4 separate regions of the Homo sapiens genome follow, and all the other regions are linked to region 3. Evidence: promoter capture Hi-C in human tissues and cell types (Jung and others, 2019). All regions are on one chromosome and are shown on one strand. Each heading gives the region's core, a stretch centred on a gene start or on the middle of the fragment in contact. The rest is flanking DNA. Distances are from core to core; before and after follow the strand shown.

Region 1 (2,856 bases), core at 337-2,836, 430 kb before region 3:
TCCCAGGGCTGGTGGTTGCTTTGGGTCTACAGCTACGTCTTACCCACCTCCTGCCTCAACAGCCTGTGTGGTGGCAAAGCCGGTGTGGGGCTGGGGAACGCAGCGTTCTCCAGGAGGGGGACCTGGCTCTCCTTCTGCAATGCAGGCGAAGGCCTAGATGCCAGTGTGACCTCCCACAAGGCGTGGCTTCCAGACTCCCCGGCCGGAAGTGATGCTTTTTTGCCTTGGGCCCTGGGTTTGAAGCAGCCTGGCTTTCTCTTGGTAAGTGGCTGGTGTCTTAGCAGCTGCAATCTGAGCTCAGCCACCTACACACCACCGTGGCCGACACTTTCATTAAAAAGTTTCCTGAGACGACTTGCGTGCATGTTGACTTCATGATCAGCGCCGCTGGGAAGAACCCCTGAGCCGGTGGGGTGGGGCTGGAAGCAGCAGGTGCAGTGATAGGGCTGGGTGCCCAGGAGGCCTCAGTGCTCAATCAGGCCAAGGTGGCCAAGCCCAGGCTGCAGGGAAGGCCGGCCTGGGGGGTGTGGGTGAGCACAGGCAGGCACCAGCTGGGCAGTGTTAGGATGCTGGAGCAGCATCCGTAACCCCACTGAGTGGGGTAGTCTGGTTGGGGCAGGGACCGCTGTTGCTTTGGCAGAGAGAGATGATCCCCACTGGGGAGAGGCTGTTCTGACTCTGCAGGTGGGACAGGGACAGATGGCCACCAGGGTGACCCGGCTGGTCTTCCTTTGCTATGCTAAGCCCTGGGACATGGAGGATTCCTGCCACCCTGGGCCCGGGTTCTTACCTGTGGCCACCGCTCTGGCACGAGCCCCTCAGTCTTGGGTGGTTTCTGCCTGGTCCGGGATTTGGTGTTGCTGCTGAGTCCAGCCTTTCCACCACCTCCGCATGGGCCGTGGGTGTTGTCAGCTGCCTCCCGCCTTGGCTTCAGTAGCTCACCCAGCTTACAGGGGAGCTGCCCTGGGCTGGAGATGGGCATGCACCCTGGGTCCTACTTGAATGAATGCAGCTTGAGGAGAGCCGGCCATATACACTGGGCCACAGGTTACCCTCGGCAATGCCCACAGCTGTCAGCCTGAGCCTCCCCAGGAGAGCAAGGCTCACACGACAAAGGCTGCCCGTGGCCAGTGAGGTGGCTGAGCCCAGCCAGGACCTTTCTCGGACTCCCGGGATGTGGCTCTGCTCGTGAGCTGCCTGGTCAGCTCTCTCGGGGTGAGAGGGGCTTGTCACACGGGCGCCTGCCTGCAGTGTGACCCTTCTCAGCTTCTCTCAGCAGCCCTGCCTGCGGAGTGTCACCGCCACCATGATCATTTCCCTGACACTGCGAGGGTGGGGGGACGTCCTGGGTAGAGACAGGGCCCGTGGCAGCAGCAGGCTCAGGGGAGCCCTGCACTGGTGGACTGGGGACCTGGTGGAGACCACGCCAAGGGCTGGACAAGGGGACGAGCCTCCACCCTGGCCTCTCCGCAGGCCTCAGCAGCCCCTCCCACAGGCAGAAGGGTTGACACTGGGTTCTGCCCTCACTGCAAGAGCTGCAAGTGCCACGTGCTGTTCTGCCCAATCTGGTGTCTGCAGGTGAGGAAAGGACTGCCGCTGGCCCGTTTCTGAGTGTTCAGCACCTAAGGGTGACAGCACTGTCTGTCCCTACCCTCCGGGTCCTGTTTGAAGATCAAACCCATGCTCACAGGCCGATATTTTTTTCTTTTAGAGACAGGGTCTCACTTTGTCACCCAAGCTGGAGTGCAGTGGTGCGATTATAGCTCAATGCAGCCTCCAATTCCCGGACACAAGGGACCTTCCTGCCTCAGCCTGCCAAGTAGCTTGGACTATAGCTGTGTGTTTTCTTATTATTTTGTAGACATGGGGTCTGGCTATGTTGTCCAGGCTATTCTCAAAATTCCCAGCCTCAAGCAATCCTCCCGCCTCAGCCTCTCAAAGGTTGGGATTACAGGTGTGAGGCAAGGCACCCAGCTCAGCCACAGAGCCCTATTGCATCTCTCTTACTAAGAGCAAGAGCTGACTTCCCCCTCATCCCCATTCCAGAGTGTTGGGGCTGTGTTCAGCCGAGGCCAGGCCACTGGCATGGGCCCAGGGAGCGGGATCATTCACTGCTGCCCCAAATCTGAGATCATTCCACCTTGACAAGACTTCCTCATCCAATCCCTTTACTTGACAGCTGGGGAAACCAGTGCACACAGAGCACCCCCAGCTCAGTCAGGGTCTCAGAGCTGATCCATGAGCGGAGGCTGAGATCCTGGGATCTTGTCCCCCAGCCTCCCTGCAAGCTTACTCCCTTTCTTCTAGAAGAGATGGGGCCAGACCTCGACCAGCAGCCCTGGCCTGGACATGACTGTGCTCATGCAGGTATTGAGGCTGAGATGCCCCGGCATCACATTTTTTTCTTTCTTTTTTTCTTTTTTTTTTGAGACGGTGTCTCACTCTGTCACCCAAGCTGGAGTGCAGTGGAATGATATTGGCTCACTGCAACCTCTGCCTCCCGGTTAAAGTGATTCTCCTGCCTCAGCCTTCCAAGTAGCTGGGCCTACAGGCTTGTACCACCACGCCTGACTAATTTTTGTATTTTTACTAGAGACGGGGTTTCCTCATGTTGGCCAGGCTCGTGTCGAACTCCTGACCTCAGGTGATCCACCTGCCTTGGCCTCCCAAAGTGCTAGGATTACAGGCATGAGCCATGGCATCACTTAAACGTAGTGAGAGGCCGGGCGCAGTGGCTCATGCCTGTAATCCCAGTACTTTGAGAGGACGAGGCTGTCAGATCACCTAAGGTCAGGAGTTCGAGACCAGCCTGGCCAACATGGTGAAACCGTGTCTCTACAAAAAAACAGAAAAAAA
Region 2 (3,067 bases), core at 148-2,647, 350 kb before region 3:
AGGCCTGACCCCCAAACAAGCATTCTTCCTCCAGGGTCCCTGCACACAGCAGCCTTCAGACTAGGAACTGAGCTCTTGCCACAGGGATGTATCAGACCCTAGATGAGTCATGTGGCACTGGCCATCAGTCTGAGGACAGCACTGGGGTGGACCAGGCTCCAGTCTTGGGCTGCTCTGTGCTTGCAGAGAGGCCTTGAGACACTTCTGTGCTTACTGTGCAGGCGTCACTTCCATTATCAGTGACCCAGAGCGGCCCACTACAGCTGAAGATTGTGACCCCACCCCCTCTCTCATAGGTTTAATGCCCCTCCCACCCCTCCTGGAGCAGCCGAAGTGACCATTCTGGGGCATGGGATGGGCATGGGAGGAAATGGGGAGCCAGGGCTGCCCTGGAGACTTCTGGTATCAGAACCCTCTCCAGCCACCAAGCCCAGCTGTCCCCAGTTGCTCTGGGTTGGGGCCTGGGCCTCCACTTCCCCACAGGTCTGTGCAGTGGGAGCAAGGCAGAGGCCCGCAGAGGGACAGGCTGGTTTCCTGTGTCTGCCAGCTTGGTCAGCACCTTGGCCAGCGCCCTCCCCGCTGGAAGCTGGGCCCACTCCTCGGTACTGGCTGGCTGATTAGGTGTGGGCCAGCGCTGACAGGGAGTTATGGGGGTGCAGAGGCAGGACAGGCCATCTGTGCCCAGCTGATCTGAGTGCCCAGGTTTTCTGGACACGTGACCCTGGGGATCAGGAATGAGCTGGAGACTGGAGACAGCTGTGCCCTCAGGGCTGGACAGACCTGTCACACCCTGCCTGGGCTAGGTCAGCAGGGCCACACAGGCATCTGCCTCAGTTGCTCCCCACCTCACACCCACCCTGTAGGGCACATCCTCTGCCAGTTTGCTCAGCCCACCAACCCCCTCCAATGAGGCCAGAGGCTGCCTCACCTCCAATACCCACCCCCAACCTGGGGCTCGGCTGAGCAGGGGTCAAGAAGGGCGAGCACGCATTTCGAACTTGCCCTGGTTTTGAGCTGAGGGAAGCAGAGGATGCAGGAGTTGCCCACTCCAGAGGCCCTGGGTGTGCGTGAGGAGCCCTGAGGCTGGGCTGAGCCGCTTGTGGGAGACACTGTGCCCCCTCCATCTGAGATCGGGGCCTGGGTGCCCGGGACACTACAGACCTTTTGGGGAACCTGGGAGTCGGGAAGTCTAGAGATGGGACCCACAGGCTGGAGTCTGGGCTTTCATCCACACTCCCCCCGCCCGACACTCCCCCAGCCACCGCCTGCACATCAGGGGAGACAACATGCCCCCACGCCCACCTCTGTCCCCAGCAGGGCTGTTCCTCCCCTCATCTGCTCGGATCAGTGTTTTCTTTAACTGAGCCCCATGGTGGCGAAGGGAGAGCTCCAGCGGACCAGGCAGCAGAGAGGGGAGGGGAGAAGCCCTCAAACAGGCCATGCGCTCTCCACAGAGCCGCATACAGCAGGAGGGGGCTGGGCAGCCGGCTCAGAGCCCATTCTCTCCTGGGTACTCTTCTGGAATGGCCCCCGGCCCCACTCTGTTCCAAACATGGGACCGTCCAGCCTGGGCAACAAGAGTGAAACTCCATCTCAAAAAAAAAAAAAAAAAGTAGGAATTAACTAAGGAGGTGAAAGACTTGTACAATGAAAAGTACAAAACATTAGTGAGAAAAATTAGACATAAATAAATGGAAACATATTCCATGCTCATGGATTGGAAGACTTTATATTGTTAAGATATCAATAATACCCAAAACAATCTATAAATGTAATGCAATCTCTACCAAAATACCATTACTTTTTTGCAGAAATAGAAAAACCTATCCTAAATTCATATGAAATATCAAAGGGCCCCGAATAGCTAAAGCAATCTTGAAAAAGAAGAACAGAGCTGGATAAGTCACATTTTCTGATTTCAAAACTTACTACAAAGCTACAGTAATCTAAACAGTGTGGTACTGACATAAAGATAGACATACAGACTGATAGAATAGAGAGCCCAGATGTATAGTCAAATGATTTCTGATGAGGGTGCCAAGACCATTTAATGGTGAAAGAACAATCTTTTCGACAACTGGTGCTGGGAAAACTGAACATCCACACACAAAAGAATGAAGCTGGATCTTTACCTAATAGCATATATAAAAATTAACTCAAAATGGAACAAAGACATAAATGTAAGACTAAAACAATAAAACTCCTAGAGGAAAACATAGAGGAAAAGCTTCATGACACTGGATTTGGCAATGATTTCTTGCATATGACACCAAAAGCACTAATAGCAAAATAAAAAGACAAATTAGACTTCATGAAAATTAAATTTTTATGTGCATCAAAATACACTATCAACAGAGTAAAAAGACCACACACAGAATGGAAGAAAATATTTTAAAATCATATACCTGATAAAGGATTAATAAACAGGATATATAGAGAACTACTAAAACTCAACAACAAAAAAACCACCAACCCAATTTAAAAAATGAGCAAAGCAGCCAGGCACTGTGGCTCACATCTATAATCCCAGTACTTTGGGAGGCCGAGGAGGGTGGGTCACTTGAGGTCAGGAGTTCAAGACCAGCCTGGCCACCATGGCAAAACCCCGTCTCTACAAAAAACACAAAAATTAGCATGGCATGGTGGTGCATGACTGTAGTCCCAGCTACTCGGAAGGCTGAGGCACGAGAATCACTTGAACCCAGGAGGCGGAGGCTGAAGTGAGCCGAGATCACAGCACTGCCCTCCAGCCTGGGTGACACAGTGAGACTCTGTCCACCCCCTCCAAAAAAAAAAAAAAAAAGAGCAAAGGACTTAACTAGACATTTTTCTAAAGGTATACAAATGGCCAGCAAGCACTTGAAAGGATGCTCAACATCATGAATCATTAGGGAAATGCAAAGCAAAACTGCAATGAGACACCACCCCACACCCATTAGGATGAATACCATTAAAAAAAAACAACAGAAATTACAAGCGTTGGTGAGGATGTGGAGAAGTCAGAACCCTTCTTCATTGTTGGTGGGGCTGTATGATGGTACAGCAGCTGTGGAAAACAGTATGATGG
Region 3 (3,044 bases), core at 169-2,668:
AAAGTGCTGGTATTATAGGCGTGAGCCCCCTCGCCCAGCCCTAAAGTATTTTCAAAAATTCTTTGATCACTTCAACTCCTCTCACCCTCCCCCTCCTCTTCAGCAACCCATAATCTCCAACTCTTCCAGCTCTCTCACTCAATTTGTGCTTTTCGACCTCATGAAATCCAAGCCATTTTTACTGTAGTTCTCCTTTTCTAGCTCCACCCCTTCTCCATCCAGCTTAGACTCTCCATACTATGCGCATCACTTCAACTCTCACGCTCTAGCACCATGCTCCTCACCTCCTCGTCCGGCTGCAACTAGCCGCTAAGTCCCAGTCTTCTCGGCCAGTTCCTCCTAAGTTGTTAAATGTTGCCAAGAAAAATCATACAACTATGTATGGCACCACGACAAATTTCGAGTTTCCGATTTCAGCTGGGACCTCAGCTCTGGCATTCTATGACCTCCTTATTGCCAATCCCTCTCTTCTCGGTCTTCACCTTCCCACCCCATCTGGCACTGCTCTCCAATACCTCCTTCTCAAAACCCTTCATTTCAGAGGTTGCAAATTGGCAGCCTGAAGATCCTGCTATGTTATGTTTGGCTCTCGAAGAGTTTGGCTTTTCCTGTTCATTTTCCTTAGTTACCAATATTTAAAACTCAGTAGGTTTCTGGCTTTCTCTTGAAAAACGAAGATGTGACAATATCCCTTCACCCGCCCACATTGCCTACCTAGGTGCATGAAAGCTTTGAGCTACCCCCCAACCCCATCCCCACCCTCGCTTTCTTCCCAATTTTCATGGCTTCCAAGTTCTCTTTCTTGATATCTTTAGATTGCAACTCTTCCTCCGCCCACCCATTAAGTCCTGGTGTTCTCAAACTTCCCTCCGTAGAGGTTTTCCATTCCCACTATATAGCCCCTACACCCTGAAGTCTCCACTCAGAAAAAAGTTGGCAACCCTTTATCTGTCTCCCACAACATGATAAGTGTTTTTGGACCGAAAATGCAAAGATCTGGAACTCCATGCTTCCCACCTCTGTCGGGGCCTTCTCCGGGTCCTCCTGCATCTGTCATCCCATCCTCCAGAGAGTCCCTAGGGCCTGGGCACCCTGCAAACTCTTAGTGCAGTCAAGGTTTCCTGGCTGGGGGCCCAAGAGTTGCCACGGACCCGCACACGCTGCCCAGGCGGCGACGTGGCGCCCCTACAGGCTTCCCCGCGATTGGGGACACGCACACCCAGGGCCACCGGAGGGACAGGTGGTCAGGCGGACTCAGGTCACACCGGCGGACGCGGGGCCACTCACCTGGGCCGGGGCGGGGCAGCTCACCTGGGCCGGGGCGGGGCCGCAGGCGGGCGGGGCGGGGCCGCACCTGAGCTGCTCCAACCCGCGGCCGACGCGGCCGACGCTGCCTGGCTCCACAGCAGCTGCTGACGCGGAGCCCGCGGCCGCCCGAGCACCCAGAGCCCCGCCCCCGGCCCGCGGGCACTTCCGGGACCACTCTAGGCCGCGCGGAGGTCCCGGCGTCTCGGTGGTCCCACCGCGCCGGTTGTCGCCGCGCGAAGCCGCCCGGGCCCCGGGACACAAGGACCCGAATCAGGAGAGTCTCTCCAGTCGGCATGGTGGCTCTGGCCGTCCCCGAAGCGCGTGCTGGACGTGGGGGAAACAGAGATGGGCAGGCGTTGGCAGGAGAGCAGAGGAGGAAACAGGTCCGGACGGGCGGGCCGACCTCGAGCCGCCGGCACTCGGGGCATCTGCGCTGGTGCTGGGTGCAAGCCAGAAGCCACTGAGGCAGCTGGGGTCTTCAGGGAAAGGAGAGTGGAGCCCCAGAGCTGTCGACCCTGTCACTGTCCACAGGCACCGGGGTCCTGTTAGGATCCCCCTCCCCCAACCTGCTTCAAGGGTAGCCCTGTTCCTGTCTGCCCTCCCCGCCCCCACAGAAATAGAGATGAGAAGGGGCAGGCGAAGAACTAGGAGTGTCTGCGAGACCATCCCAGGACCCTGAGCCCCCCAACTCTCTGCATCCCAGGGCTGACTTCGACATGAAGCGCCTCCTCTCAGGCGCACCGGGAGGGAAGAGGAATGTGTTCTTGAAATGGCCGCCCCCTTGGCCGGGCGCGGTGGCTCACGCCTTTAATCCCAGCATTTTGGGAGGCGGAGGCGGGTGGATCACGAGGTCAGGAGTTCGAGACTCAGCCAGACCAACATGGTGAAACCCTGTTTCTACTAAAAATTATCCGGGAGTGGTGACAAGCGCCTGTAATCCCAGCTACTGAGACAGGAGAATCGTTTGACCCTGAGAGGCGGAGGTTGCAGTGAGCCAAGATAGTGCCATTGCACTCCAGCCTGGGCGACAGAGCGAGACTCCATCTCAAAAAACAAAAAAAAAAAAAAGAAAAGGAATCTCCGCCCCCTCCTTGCTGCTGATGGCAAGACTGGCCCCTCCACCCAGTGTTCTGCCCATGACACCCCCCCCTCAGGTGCAGCTGCCCAGCTTGTGGGAGAGCTTCCCTCCGCAGACCTTGGCCCAATCACAGGACATCAGGAGAACACACTGTCCCTGGGAAAAAGGATTCTGCCCCAGCCGCCCACCTGCCTTCAGCACCCTCAGCCTTGGCGCTCGAGTGCCTCCAATGCTACCCACACACACCTGCCTTCCTGCCCCATTAATGCTCTGTCGGGCCTTGGGCACAGACTCCAAGGGGTAGGCAGTGGCTGCCCCTCCCCAAGCCAACAGCCTGAGCTCCATGGGGACCAGCCACCCTAGAGCCATAACCCTTGGACCATAACCAGCCATGCAGAGTTGGGGGCGGCAAGGGCTGGTTCCTTTTTCTCCCTCCGGCTCCTCAGGTCACAGGAAGGTCAGGCTACCAGTTTGAGCCCCCAGGGGGCCATGGTGGGGGAGTCTGGGCCATGCCCCAATAGTCTCAGGTGCTTCCTCTTTGACAACAGTCCCCAGAATCCCCATTCCCCCGCACACTGCTCCCCACCCCAGGAGTGGGTCTTCGACTCCCAGACCCACCACAGTCATTTTTCTCAGCCAGGATCTTATGACCCTCACA
Region 4 (3,050 bases), core at 493-2,992, 270 kb before region 3:
TTATCATCGAGGGTCTGGGGTTCTGCTCTTTTTTATGTGTGAATTTTTTAAAAACTAGATTTAATTCCATGCACCAGCATTAATTATATTTATTTATTTTCTTTGTTATAAAAATAATCAGCCAGGTGTGGTGGCTCACACCTGTAATCCCAGCACTTTGGGAGGTTGAGGTAGGTGGATAATTTGAAGTCAAGAGTTTGAGACCAGCCTGACCAACATAATGAACCCTGTCTCTAGTTAAAAAAAAAAAAAAAAATAGCCAGGCATGGTGGCATGTGCCTGTAATCCCAGCTACTCAGGAGGCTGAAGCAGGAGAATCCCTCGAACCTGGAGGCGGAGGCTATAGTGAGCTGAGATCGTGCCACTGCACTCCAGCCAGGGCAACAGAGTGAGACTCCATATCAGAAAAACAAAACAAAACAAAAAAACCGGCAGGGTGCAGTGGCTCACGCCTGTAATCCCAGCACTTTGGGAAGCCAACGTGGGCGGATCATGAGGTCAGAAGATCAAGACTATCCTGGCTAACACAGTGAAATCCCGTCTCTACTAAAAACACAAAAAATTAGCCAGGCGTGGTGGCATGCGCCTGTTGTCCCAGCTACTTGGGAGGCTGAGGGAGGAGAATTGCTTGAGTCCAGGAAGCAGAGGTTGCAGTGAGCCGAGATTGTGCCAGTGCACTCCAGCCTGGGCAACAGAGCAAGACTCTGCCAAAAAAAAAGCCCCCCCCCAAAAAAATCAATTATTAAAGATTAGAAAATACTGAAATGCTTATATTTTAAAATAACCACTATAACCGTACATTTTCCGTTCAGTCTTCCTTTGCCCTGTGTTTGCAGTCATCATGTGAGGAGCTACCTATGTTCAGCCCAGGCAACCCACAGGGAGAGAGGGCAGAGCGGGGAGATGGCCCCTGGTGAGCACTGAGGCTCTTCGAACCAGCTGTCAAGGGAGTTGCAACCAGGGTGATACATGAGACTAATGATTAAGTGGTATTTTGTGTTCTTGTCTTGTCCCCAGGTTGTGTAGCTCACAGACTTTTTTTTAACATTTCTTTAGCGGTCATTTGAAGTTCATAATGCCATCAAATATCAATAAAGGGTCTTCCCATTATTTATCAGCTTTGGGATATGTGCTGAGGAGTGGCCGAGCGCTGAAAGAATGTGATCGGTTGTCCCAAGTGCTGTTCTCCAACTCAAAATCCGCAACCAGTTCAAAAGCATTTGGACTTTTATGTGCCTTTCACATAAAGACTATGACATACCTAAGTTATTCATGTACTAATACCTGCCCTGAGCTATGTGACCATGGACACCATGCTATAATGTGGCTAGTGTGTAGGAACTCTGCAGGCTCAGATCATTCCAGACATACATGCAGATGTTGGAAGTCCTTTGCACAGTGACTCATGATCCCACAGCTGAGTGCTGAGGGCAGGTCAGTAGTTCAGAGCCTCAGCATTGGGGCCCTATGCTTGGGTTCCCATCTTGGCTCTTTTGCTTAGGGGCTCATAAGCTTGGGCACATTCATCTCCGTCTTTTTCTGCCCAGCAAAAGATGATAGTAAATCAATCATGCCATATGTCTGTGGTGATGGCTGAATGATTCGATGTAGGTAAAGTATACAGCATAAGTGCTCATGAGGCTTAATTATCAGTGAAATGTCTTGCTTTAGATTTCACAGCTTAATAAGGCTCAGAGACTCATTCAAGTCCAGGATTCTGAACTCCCAACCCATTGCTCTATGAAATACACCTGCTTGGCCTAAACCCAACCACTTTATCATAATTCAGACCCAGTTTTGAAAGAAGCAGATAAAGTTGTCAAAAGTGCTGTGTCTGCCTGAGTGCACACTCAGTGCCCTCCATGATAAATAATGGGAAGAACCGTTATTGATATTTGATGGCATTACAAACTTCAAATGACAGCTATAGAAATGTTAAAAAAAAAAGTCTGTGAGCTACACAACCTGGTGACAAGACAAGAACACAATATACCACCTAATCATTAGTCTCATGTATCACCCTGGTTGCAACTCCCTTGACAAAGGATACCACTATCTGCCACAACGACCCAGTGGCCTGGCTGGCACAGACAGGGGCAGAGCAAAGGGCAAGAGATCCCTAATCCCATCACTATGACGATAGGGCATCATAGACAGTTCAGGGTGAAGGCACAATCCACATTGTGAGGTCCAACTGCTGCCATGTAGACAGGCGTGCTTTTACATATACAGGAAGGTCATTGAAGATAAGTGTTTTATATCCACGATCAACATATGAGATGACCATGAAATGAACACCAGTGTACTGGGTGGAGCAGCTTATCTATTCAGTCTTCTGCACTAAAACCTGTGAAAGAATATCATGTTGCCTTATTTACTAACAAATACAAGTGCCTCTAAACTTAGTTTCCAACTCACAGAACTGATGAGCACTTAGCTCCTAGAGAGAGCTCTGGATGATGGGTCGGGAGAACTAAGTCACACAATACATCAAAACAGCATTAACAAGTAAACAGGTTTTCAAAGCTTTCTACATGCAAACTTACACAATTATCCCTTTAATTTTTATCTTCATATATATGTATATGATCTATTTGTTTCTGAGTATAAATAAAACTGTATGTTCTTAGTTAACAGTCTCTACCAATTCATTCTATTTATCTTTCTGTGTTGAAATACTGCATTTCATTGGGAAACAAAAAAAAAAAAAAATTTGACTAAGACTACTCTGGAAAGGTGAGTAGGTTGGGTGATTGACTGTAATTGACAATTCTATGATTTTGGATAACTCCCAAAGCATAAAAATAAATGTTTTTTATTTCACACACAGACAATACGCATTCTTATTACATTTAAAATTGATATGTGAATGGACATGACTTACTACAAATTTATTAAACTAAATACACATTTCACAACAAAAGAAGAGAGGAAGGAAAAACATGTCAAAAACAAAGATAGGTACATTTTATTGTGTGAAAAGCCTCAAACCCATCTGTACTACTGTGGCTTTTCTCCAAACTTTTTGAAAGTAATGATTTCATAGGTTC

The links. Contacts are between HindIII fragments. The study calls those that stand out against the background at their distance.
Region 1: a contact is called between a fragment that was not itself captured here and the fragment with the promoter of ZNF70 in region 3, in 1 of the 25 tissues and cell types used here (spleen).
Region 2: a contact is called between a fragment that was not itself captured here and the fragment with the promoter of ZNF70 in region 3, in 1 of the 25 tissues and cell types used here (lymphoblastoid cells).
Region 4: a fragment that was not itself captured here is called in contact with the fragment with the promoter of ZNF70 in region 3 in 1 of the 25 tissues and cell types used here (IMR-90 fibroblasts).

Annotation. Positions count from the first base shown.
Region 1 is chr22:23,317,684-23,320,539 of GRCh38, forward strand. It overlaps BCR (BCR activator of RhoGEF and GTPase), which reads left to right. Exons shown (of 23, transcript NM_004327.4): 23 at 1-354. It also overlaps the pseudogene POM121L11P. Among named protein-coding and RNA genes, the nearest start is that of LINC02556, 7.5 kb to the right of the region's middle. The HindIII fragment of the contact is 3,644 bases long and covers 1-2,856 here.
Region 2 is chr22:23,404,291-23,407,357 of GRCh38, forward strand. No RefSeq gene overlaps it. Among named protein-coding and RNA genes, the nearest start is that of LINC01659, 28 kb to the right of the region's middle. The HindIII fragment of the contact is 6,786 bases long and covers 1-3,067 here.
Region 3 is chr22:23,749,694-23,752,737 of GRCh38, forward strand. It overlaps ZNF70 (zinc finger protein 70), which reads right to left and starts at 1,419. Exons shown (of 2, transcript NM_021916.4): 1 at 1,018-1,419. RefSeq lists a silencer at 1,135-1,584 and enhancers at 1,177-1,852, 1,735-1,794, 2,635-2,694. The HindIII fragment of the contact is 11,413 bases long and covers 1-3,044 here.
Region 4 is chr22:23,483,513-23,486,562 of GRCh38, forward strand. All of the region lies in intron 1 of FAM230I (family with sequence similarity 230 member I), which reads right to left. Among named protein-coding and RNA genes, the nearest start is that of FAM230I, 1.9 kb to the right of the region's middle. The HindIII fragment of the contact is 4,580 bases long and covers 1-3,050 here.